2 separate regions of the Homo sapiens genome follow, and region 1 is linked to region 2. The links are contacts of gene promoters, found by promoter capture Hi-C in human tissues and cell types (Jung and others, 2019). All regions are on one chromosome and are shown on one strand. Each heading gives the region's core, a stretch centred on a gene start or on the middle of the fragment in contact. The rest is flanking DNA. Distances are from core to core; before and after follow the strand shown.

Region 1 (4,842 bases), core at 1,858-4,357, 250 kb before region 2:
ATTAACGGAGGGTCTTTGTTCTTAGAGCTCCCAAGATGGTGGTGGGCCACTCCCAAGATGGCAGCAAGCCTTTTGTTCTCTGACCTGGAGTTCTTGGGCTCATGGATTCCAAGGAATGGAACCTTGGGCCATGCGATGAGGTTATAGCTCTATTAGAAGCTGTGGGTCACGGAAGAGAACTGTGGAACCCAGCAGCTAGTGTTCAGCTCGATTAGGACAAACCCGGGCACTTAGCCATGCAGGAATAATGGCGAGCCTTTAGCCCATTGGGAGCAGCAATGGGCGCCTCATTGGATCAGGAGTGCAGTGGACACCCTGCCGGATCCCGAGGGGTGGAAGTCAGTGATGGGTCTGTGACAGCAGCAAACAGCAGTGGTGAACAGTGAGCGAAAGCTCAGCTTGAGCTGTAACAAACGCGGACCAGAAGAGTGTGCAGTTGCAAGATTTAATAGAGTGAAAACAGAGCTTCCATACAATGGGAGGGGACCCAAAGGGGGTTGCCCACATACTTAAATTTTAAAAAGCTGTGTGCATTGACATGAACATTTTAGTATTACGCATAATAGAAAAAAATTAAAGACAACCCAAATTGCAACAATTATGAAACAATCAAGCCGATTATTCTACTAAGCCCAGCTTAGTAGAATGTAATGCAGTCATTTAAAATTATAATGCTTAGACATCTGTAACACTTTGGGAAAGTGTTTAGAATGCACTAAACAAAAATCTAAGTACCTGCTTATAAAGTGTGATGTATTTGAATCCCAGCTCTACCATTTACCAGCTGTAAGGCGTTGCAAATATTACTTAATCTCTGTGCCTCAGTTTTTCAGTTTGTAAAACAGAAAAAGTAATAATACCTACCTAGTAATGTTGGTGTACAGATTAAATGAGTCATTGTACATAAAACTGCTTAGAAAACTCGCACATAAGTGCTATGTGAATGTTTCTGATTCTTTGTCATTAGAATATTTCCCATCATATCATTATCATAACCTTTATAATAAATAAAAATTAGAATTTAAAAATCCCCTTCTTAGATATTGTTGCTAAAACATATTTCATATTCTTTAAGAATAACCCACAGTAGGCTGGTGGTGAAGAGTGGCTCACGCTTGTAATCCCAGCACTTTGAAAGGCCAAGGTGGGTGAATCACCTGAGGTCAAGAGTTCGAGACCAGCCTGGCCAACATGGTGAAACCCTGTCTCTACTAAAAATACAAAAATTAGCCAGACATGGTGGCAGGTGTCCATAATCCCAGCTACTCAGGAGGCTGAGGCAGGAAAATCCCTTGAACCCAGGAGGTGGAGGTTGCAGTGAGCCGAGATTGTACCACTGCACTCCAGCCTGGGCAACAGAGTGAGACTCTGTCTCAAAAAAAAACAAAAAAAACAAAAAAAAACCGCACAGTATCCTCAAGAACATTTTAGTTCAATGATACATATTATGCACTTGCTAGGTATCAAGCCCCATGTGACCCCCGCCCTAAGGGAGCTTACAGTCAGTTAAAGCAGAAGAAATCACACAATCTCAACAGTCCTGATGGCCTCAGCTTTGCACATCACCCTCCCATCCTAAATTGCAAATGCCATTTCATCATTTTATCATTTTTGGCCACTGTTAATGCACCCTGAAGATTTGTTTTACATTATATTTATATAAGTAGTCCTAAGATACATAAAGTGTTCTTCTGTTTTGAATGGGCTTCTATTTTTGCTAGATTTGAACAAGTGTAGTAATTTCAATTTCCTGTTGTTATTTAACAATTCTCATTTCACACAGGTATCATTTAGGTGTTAACACAAAAAAGTGGATTTTTCAAAACATGTTTAAATCTCCATATTTTTTAGCATCTTGACCTTCTAAATCAACACAAAATCTTCAATTCTGCAAAGATACAATGCATTCCATTCCTGTTTCCATATTTCCAATCATTCAACAAATGTTTATTGAGTACGTGTTATGTACCAGACACATTCAGTGCTAGGCACCAGGGATGAGAAGACAGTTCCTGTCTCAAGGTTTGCTCCTTCTAAATGGGGAAGCTCCCATCACAATGTGAAAAATGAGAATAATAATAAGAGTGTGTACTGGAACTATGGAGCAAGGAGTTGGAAACCAAAAGAAAGCATCCTGATCCATTCTGAAAACAGACCTTTCAAAGAATAAGGCATTTGAAGCCAGTCCTAGAGGCCATCTGGTGATAACTAGGCAGAAAAATCCTTCCAGGATAATAATGTAGACTAAGCAAAGCTAAGAAAGCATAAGAGAGCATAATGTGTTTAAAAAACACTTAGGTTCAGCTAGCCATGGTGGCTCACACCCGTAATCCCAGCACCTTGGGAGGCTGAGGCGGGTAGATCACTTGAGGCCAGGAGTTTGAGACCAGCCTGGCCAACATGAAGAAACTCCATCTCTACTAAAAAATACAAAAATTAGCTGGGTATGGTGGTGGCCTGTAATCCCAGCTACTCAGGAGGCTGAGGCTCAAGAATCACTTGAGCCTGGGAGGCAGAGGCTGCAGTGACCTGAGACTGCACCACTGCACTCCAGCCTGGGTGACAGAGTGATACTCTGCCTCAAAAATAAAACAAAAACAAAAAAAACCACTTAGGTTAAATGGAACAAAACCATGGGTAGAGAGTGTTAAATAAAAGAGGAAGCAAAGATCTCTTACAACCCCTACTGAAGACATTGAGATTTATCTTTCTTGGGAGAGAAAGTCAAAAAAAAAAAAAAAAAAAACCGCAACAAAAAAACAACCAACCTGTAGGCCAGGGAATAGAATCTTCAGATTTGCATCACAAAAATCCATCTGATGAAAACATGAAAGAAGAGAGACTGGCAAAAAGAGTTCAGCCAGGTGGCTTGTGAAGTAGTAAAACAATAAATTAAGAGGGCCTGAACTACGACAGTGACCACAGCAAAGATTGGATAGTGGGTATACTTAAGGCTATACAGAAGACTAAATTTAAAAGAAAAGCCTTATGCACAAATACTGCATGGAGTATAACAATCCCTTGAATGCACAGAATAGCTCACGAGAAAGGAGAAGGCTCCTACAACTCAGCAAAAGTAAAGGTGGGGGATGGGGGGAGGGAGAGCATCAAGATAAATAGCTAATGCATGCAGGGCTTAATACCTAGGTGATGGGTTGACAGGTGCAGCAAACCACCATGGCACACATTTACTTATGTAACAAATCTGTACATCCTGCACATGCATCCTGGAATTTAAAATTAAATTAAATTAAATTTTAAAAATTCAAAAAGAAAAGATGTTCAACAACAACAACAGCAAGAAAAGTAAAGACTAGAAAAACCTGTCCACAAACACAAGGAGATGACAAGGAAGCTGGTCTATCCTAACACAAGCTCTGATGGAAAAAAACCCTCCCTGATAATTTGAAACAATAGGTCTGCCCTCACCTAAGCTTGTGGTTGAAATTTACACCTTGTGAGGGTTCTGGAGCATGGAGCCTAAGAAAATAACATAAACATGGAACAGTATAAAATAAGATCTATGGTGAGAAAAAAAAAGTAAGATACAAAACAGTGCAGGTAATAGAGTGCCACTAATGTAAAAGGTAATAATAGCCAGGTACATATATGTTGCATATGCACAGACCATCTTACCTAAAAATGTGTCCCAGGCTCAGTCTTTGATCCTCATCTCTCCTCTAGTGATACTCACTCTATTAGTGATCTCACCCAGTCTCAAGGCTTGTTGATCACTTTAAACTGGTTGCTCTCAAATTTATACTTCTGGCCCAGACCTCTCTCCCACAACCCAGACTCGGATATTCAACAGCCAACTCAAAATCTCCGCTTAGATGCATGAGACATCTAAAATCCAAAACTTTTCTTATATCCTCTCAAGCCTGTTCCTCCACATCCTTCCCCATTTTCACTGACAGTAAATCCATCCTTCCAGCTGCTTTGTTCTAAACCCTTAGAGTCATCCTTGAGTCTGTGCTGGCTCTCACATCCCACATCCAATTCATCAGGAAAGACCATTGGATCTATCTTCAAGATATGTCTAGAATCCTACTGCATTACACCTTCTCCATGGCCACCACCCTGGACAAAATCAACATCATAAGAATTCCTGTGTATTGTAAATTTTGAAACATCATATTTTCCTGCTGCCTCAACATCTCCATGAATAGACTGGGAGCATTCCACCCAGGCAACCAGATGAGCCTATGTGATAATATTGACGCAAGACGTAAGTTCTCCTTCTTGCTCTTCCCAGACTGCGACCAGTGATATTCAAATACACCAGTGAAATCACCTTGCAACTTTTCTTATATACTCTACCCTAACCCCGAATTACTTGGCCCAGTGTCCTCATTCTTTCACTTCTCCCCACTGCTTGGCTGAGCTTATTCCTTTGGTACCCTTCCTGTGTGACCCTCTTGTGGTGTGCAGTGACTCTATCTCTCTAGGACCTGTGAGGATAACAAACTATGTTTTCCTATGCCTCTTTTGTGTCCCTTTTTGTGGCCTCCTCAAACTGATCATCTCATGAAAGAATATAAGACAACCTGCATCACTGCACCAACTTCTCACAGGTCTCCCTGCTTCTACCTTTTTCCCCCCACCACACTCACACACTGTAATTTAAATTTAGAAGCCAGAGTGAGCCTTTAAAAATAGAAGATCATGGCTGGGGGCGGTGGCTCACACCTGTAATCTCAGCACTTTGGTAGGCTGAGGCAGGCAGATCACTTGAGGTTAGGAGTTTGAGACCAGCCTGGCCAACATGGTGAAACCCTGTCTCTACTAATAATACAAAAATTAGCTGGGCATGGTGGTGTATGCCTGTAATCCCAGCTACTT
Region 2 (4,758 bases), core at 217-2,716:
AGAACAAAACTCAAATACATGATGAAAGCAAGCTAAAAGCAGTGCATTTAACAAACCACAATATAATGTGATATATTTATAGAATTATTACTAAAATCAGAAAATCAATGTCTTAGTGATTAAGTCTAGGATAATCAAACTTATTGAATAGTTGCAGTAGTTACTTAATGAGATAGTTTTGATTAATCTTTTGTCCAAATAACAATATTGTGATTACAGGCTTAGCACTACAGGTAGTGTAACCATCAGTGAGTGAGATTAGTACATTTTACATAGTTTTGCTATTTTCTCAGTTTATTTTGGAGTCCAGTAATAACCAGTCAGTCTGTACCTGCCATAGGGCAATCTTTGGTTGATATGAGTTCCTTTCCTGATTTTAAAATAAGTGCAATCTTTAACCTAATAAAATTATCTTAAAGTTTACAATTGATGGTTTAAACACATTATAATTGCTCCGTATTTTGCAGATAGAAGAGGCTTAATCCATGTTTGTAGATCTATTTCCTAAAATAAAAATTAGTAAAAAAAAGTTTTTTTTCTTCAGGTTTAACATTCATTTTGTACCGGGAAGAGAAATGGAATAAGAGGCTCGGATTTTTAAGACTATGCAATCAGATACAAGTGCCATTTTGGCCAAAGAATGAGTAAAACATTCTAGTCCCGACACGTTTAATAATGGGCATACATCCTATTTCTTTGTTTCATAATCATTGAGCTCTCTGCCTTCTCTCTCTTTTTTGGTATGGTAACAAATTCGACAAAATCAATGCCATCTAGTTAAACTTTTTGATTAAGTAGTGGATCCGGTGTCCTATCCACGAAGAGGTGGGAAAAGCGATGTGGAGAAGCAGGCACGAACCCATCTGGAATGGAACATGTCCCTTCCGAATAATTTCATGTGGGAAAATAATTTCAAGTTGAAGGATAATTACTGCAGAGACTGCCAGTCACCCCCGGCCGCCGCCGGCCGCGCAGCGTCGGAAACCCTTCGCGGCAGCCAGGAGGGTCGCAGCCCTCCCGGAGCCCCGCTTCCTGCCCCGGGGCGGCGCACCCGGCTCCGGGAAGGTGCCGCGCGGGAGACGTGGCAGCAGCCCCTCCAGTCCGCGCCCGGGCGCAGCGGCCGAGCGCTCCGTGCAGCCGGGCAAGGAAGACTCCGCGGCAGCAGCGCACCGGCCGGCGGGGAGACCCGCCTGAAGCGCCGGCGCCCGCCAGGGGACGGGAAGTGGCGCCCGGCCCGCCCTTGCGGCCCGCGGCCCGCGGCCCAGCAGCTCCGCGCCGCCCCTTTTCTCTCGGCCTCTCCCTCGGCCTCCGCCACCCCGGCCGAATTCTTGCATAAATTATGCCAGGCGCGCCTGACGTCAGGTGGCGGCGCGCGGGCGCGGGCGCGGGCGCGGCGCGGCCCGGAGGGAGCTGGCGGCGGGCGCGCGCGGCCCCGCGGCTTCGGGTGCGCGCGGCGTGCCGGACGCGCGCAGGCGCTGGCGTGCTGGGGCCGCGGCGGCGGCGGCGGCGGCGGCGGCAGCGGCGGCGGCGGCGGCGGCGCGGGGGTTGAGTCGTGGTGGTGCGGACGCGCTCGTGCTCGGGAACTATCGGATTAAACTTGAATCGAGTGAAATTACACAAAGGAGCGCCGCGGAGGAGGCGGCCCGGGGACCCGGACACCCTGAAACTCACCAGAGACCCGTTCGCCCCCGGCCAACTCCGTGCCCGTGGATTCAGCCCCCTGGCCGCAGCTGCCGAGCCAACTCCGGAGCCCGCTCTGCGTTTTGTTTTCCCCTCGGCACTAGGCAGCGGAGGAGCCCGACCGACCCGGTGAGCGCGAGAGTTCGCCCGGCGCCCCCGGGAGGGGCGGCGGCGGCGGCGGCGGCAGGAAATCGCTCCGGGCCGGGGCCGGGGCCGCGCTAGGAGTTGGGAGCGAGGAGTTGGGCGTGTGCGGGGCGAGGGGCGAGGGGCGAGGGCGGGAGGGGGCCGGGGCCAGCGCAGGAGCGCAGCGCCGCCCGCGTAGTGTCGCCGGCGTCGCCGCCCGCGGGGCCCGAACCCGCGCCCCGAGCGCCGCCCGGCGCCCCAACTTTTGCCTGCGTCCGCCGGGCCGGCGGCGGCGGGGGCGCGCGGTGCGGCCGAGGGTCACTTCCTCGCATGTAAATGGCTTTTTGTTGTGCTGCCGGCGTGGGGGGGGGGTACGGGGGACAGGAGGGAGCGTGTCTGCGCGCGGGGGAGCGCGAGCGCGTTTCCTCCCGCCGGCGCCGAGCACGAGTTGCCGGCTCCATTCGAGAGAAAAAGGAAGGAGGAAAAGTTGGGCTCCAACTCAAGTGCGAGCGGGCGATGGGCGCGCGGGCGCGGGGCGGCTGAGCAGCGGCGGCGGCGGCTCGGGGACGGCGGCGACCCCCGCCTCCCGCCCCCGCCCCCCGCTCCGGACCGACCACGCCGCGCTCGCCGGGAGCTGCGGCCGCACCGGCGCGAACAAAGTGCGTTCCTCCCGGCGCGGCGGCGCCAGCCCGCGCGGGGACCGCCACCGAGCGAGGTGGGTCGGCGGCGGGGAAAGTGCGCGGGGCGCCGCGTGGGGCGGGGGCAGCGCGAACACGCGGCGCGGGAGGCGTCCCGAGCTCAGCCAGTGCCGGTCGCGGGCGCGGAGTTGCGAGCCCGGAGTTGGGGGCTCCTGGGGCTCCCCGGCGGCTCCCAAGTGCGCTAGGAGGAGAAGAAAGGGAGCGGGGCCGGGGCGAGCGCCGGGAGGCGCGGCGAGGAGGGGACCCCACCTTGTCGAGCTGGCCGGGCCGCCGGCGGCGGCAGCTGCATAATAGCGACTTTAACCTTCCAACGCAACTCGGCTCCCCCGCCCCCCAACCCGCCGGGGGTCAGCGCCGGTGGGGGGTGGTCACCAGGTGGCCCCCGAGGTGACCCGGGTGCGCTCTGCCCTCGCAGAGAGCCGCGGCTTGGAGCGTGAACGGCCGAGGTGGCTGGAGGCCAAGCGGTCAGCGGGGAGAGGAAAGGAGGGCGGTGGGGGACGCGTTGTTTGTTTGGTTCGCACCGGGGATTGGGCTCGCTGGGGGCGCGGGGCTCGGGCGGGGGCGCGGGCACCGGCTGGGCTGCGGTGCGGGGCGGGCGCGGCGGCGCGGGGCTGTCGAGGTCGCGGGGGGGGGGGGCGGGGGCGGCGGCGGCGGCGGCTCCCGGGCGGGGGTGGGGGCGCTGGTCGGGAGGCTCTGGGGAAGGAGCCGCCGGCCCCGAGCAGCCATCATTACCGAGCCGCCTTTCTCCGGATGGCTCTGCCTCGAGGAGCCCGGAGCCGTGGGAGCGCACCCCAAACTCCCGGCCGGCCGCCCGCTTTGTGAGCGCCCCCGTGAAGCGAGCGGCGCGGAGAGTGCTCCTGCTATGGGTCGGACTCTTTTCCTGGAGGTCACTTTTAGAGACTGCTCACGCCTTGGTTTAAACTAGTTTTTTTCCCCCTCTTCTGAACAGACAATGGACAAAAGAAAAGTAGCAACCCACATGGAGAGAGTTTCCTTTTGAATTGCTAGAATTAGATACACTATCCAGCGCTCCACTTGCTAAGTATACTTTTTAGTTTCCCATTGTATATTATCTAGCAATCGATTTAAATAACTTATCTTAAAAAGTGTCCCTTTTGGGGGCTTAATTTCTGGAATACATTACATGTCTTAATTTATTTTTAAAGGATTTTGTGAGGCCCTGATTTTTTATTTTCTAAAAATTTTAATTTAAGCCGTCTTTGCAGTGGGCGATACCTTTCTAAGGGGTTAAGTGTTATTTCACCCCAGTTCTCTCTCGGTAAGGGAGGGAGTACTCAGTATACGTAGTAATCGAAGAGGAAACAAAATACGTGTCTTTATTTCTTCACTGATCTTGTCTGACGATGACAAAAAATATCTTAGTGACTGTGACCTTAGCAGCATGGCTACCTGATTTATCCCAGTTATAATTATATTTAGATTGCAGTAATGTCTAAGTACAAGGTAATTCCTATTTCAGAAATAACTTGAGCAGTGATTTTACGAAGTTGAATCCTTCTCCCAGCCCCCAGAGTACATCTGTCGCGCAGTGTTTTTGTCTTGCTGTTGCACAACAGAAGCCCTCCAGTCTTTACCCTAAAATGGCAGCTTTCATTTGACTGAGGCCCATTCATTGACAATGATAATAAAGAGGCTGAAAGCTAGATGCTTGGGGCATGGAGTAGGACTTGGTTTGCCTTTCTAGGTGATAAGTAGGAGACATTTTATGTCTTCCAGTTTGCTCAGGAAAAGTTTATTTTCCCTGAAAAATCTGTCTTGTAGAAAAAAGTTATAGTAAAATAATTTGGAAATGGGTAAAGGCTTGAGCAGCAAATTTTAGAAGCTAAATTTTCTTATTTTGCCCAATAGTGGAAATATGGCATTCTCTTTTTTGGTAATCTGCTGATAAAAGGACATAATGGATTTTTGTCAGGCTTGTAACAGGTGAATTTCCTCATGCTGGTACTCAAGAATTGGGATTGTTTTCTAGCACTGTGGGTTTTTTTCTCTTTATATTTTCTAATTTTTTCTCCTGTTCGAGTCACTAAATTGAACCATGATGAATTGTATCCTGGGTCTATGCTTTCGCGATTGAAATGAGTTTTCAGATAAGAAATGAATTATAATTTTAAAAGACTGGTATATGAATTTTAAATTATTATATTCATTTAATCAATGGCCTTATTTTTAAATTAGTTTTTTTAAAAAGTTACTTTCTTTTATATGTCTTAACATGGAAGGCACAATACAGGAATGG

Evidence for each region. Contacts are between HindIII fragments. The study calls those that stand out against the background at their distance.
Region 1: a fragment that was not itself captured here is called in contact with the fragment with the promoter of CHD7 in region 2 in 1 of the 25 tissues and cell types used here (thymus).

What each region holds. Positions count from the first base shown.
Region 1 is chr8:60,425,018-60,429,859 of GRCh38, forward strand. No RefSeq gene overlaps it. Among named protein-coding and RNA genes, the nearest start is that of LINC01301, 14 kb to the left of the region's middle. The HindIII fragment of the contact is 5,621 bases long and covers 298-4,842 here.
Region 2 is chr8:60,677,274-60,682,031 of GRCh38, forward strand. It overlaps CHD7 (chromodomain helicase DNA binding protein 7), which reads left to right and starts at 1,467. Exons shown (of 38, transcript NM_017780.4): 1 at 1,467-1,809. RefSeq lists silencers at 1,015-1,454, 1,815-1,914, 2,575-2,944. The HindIII fragment of the contact is 11,242 bases long and covers 1-4,758 here.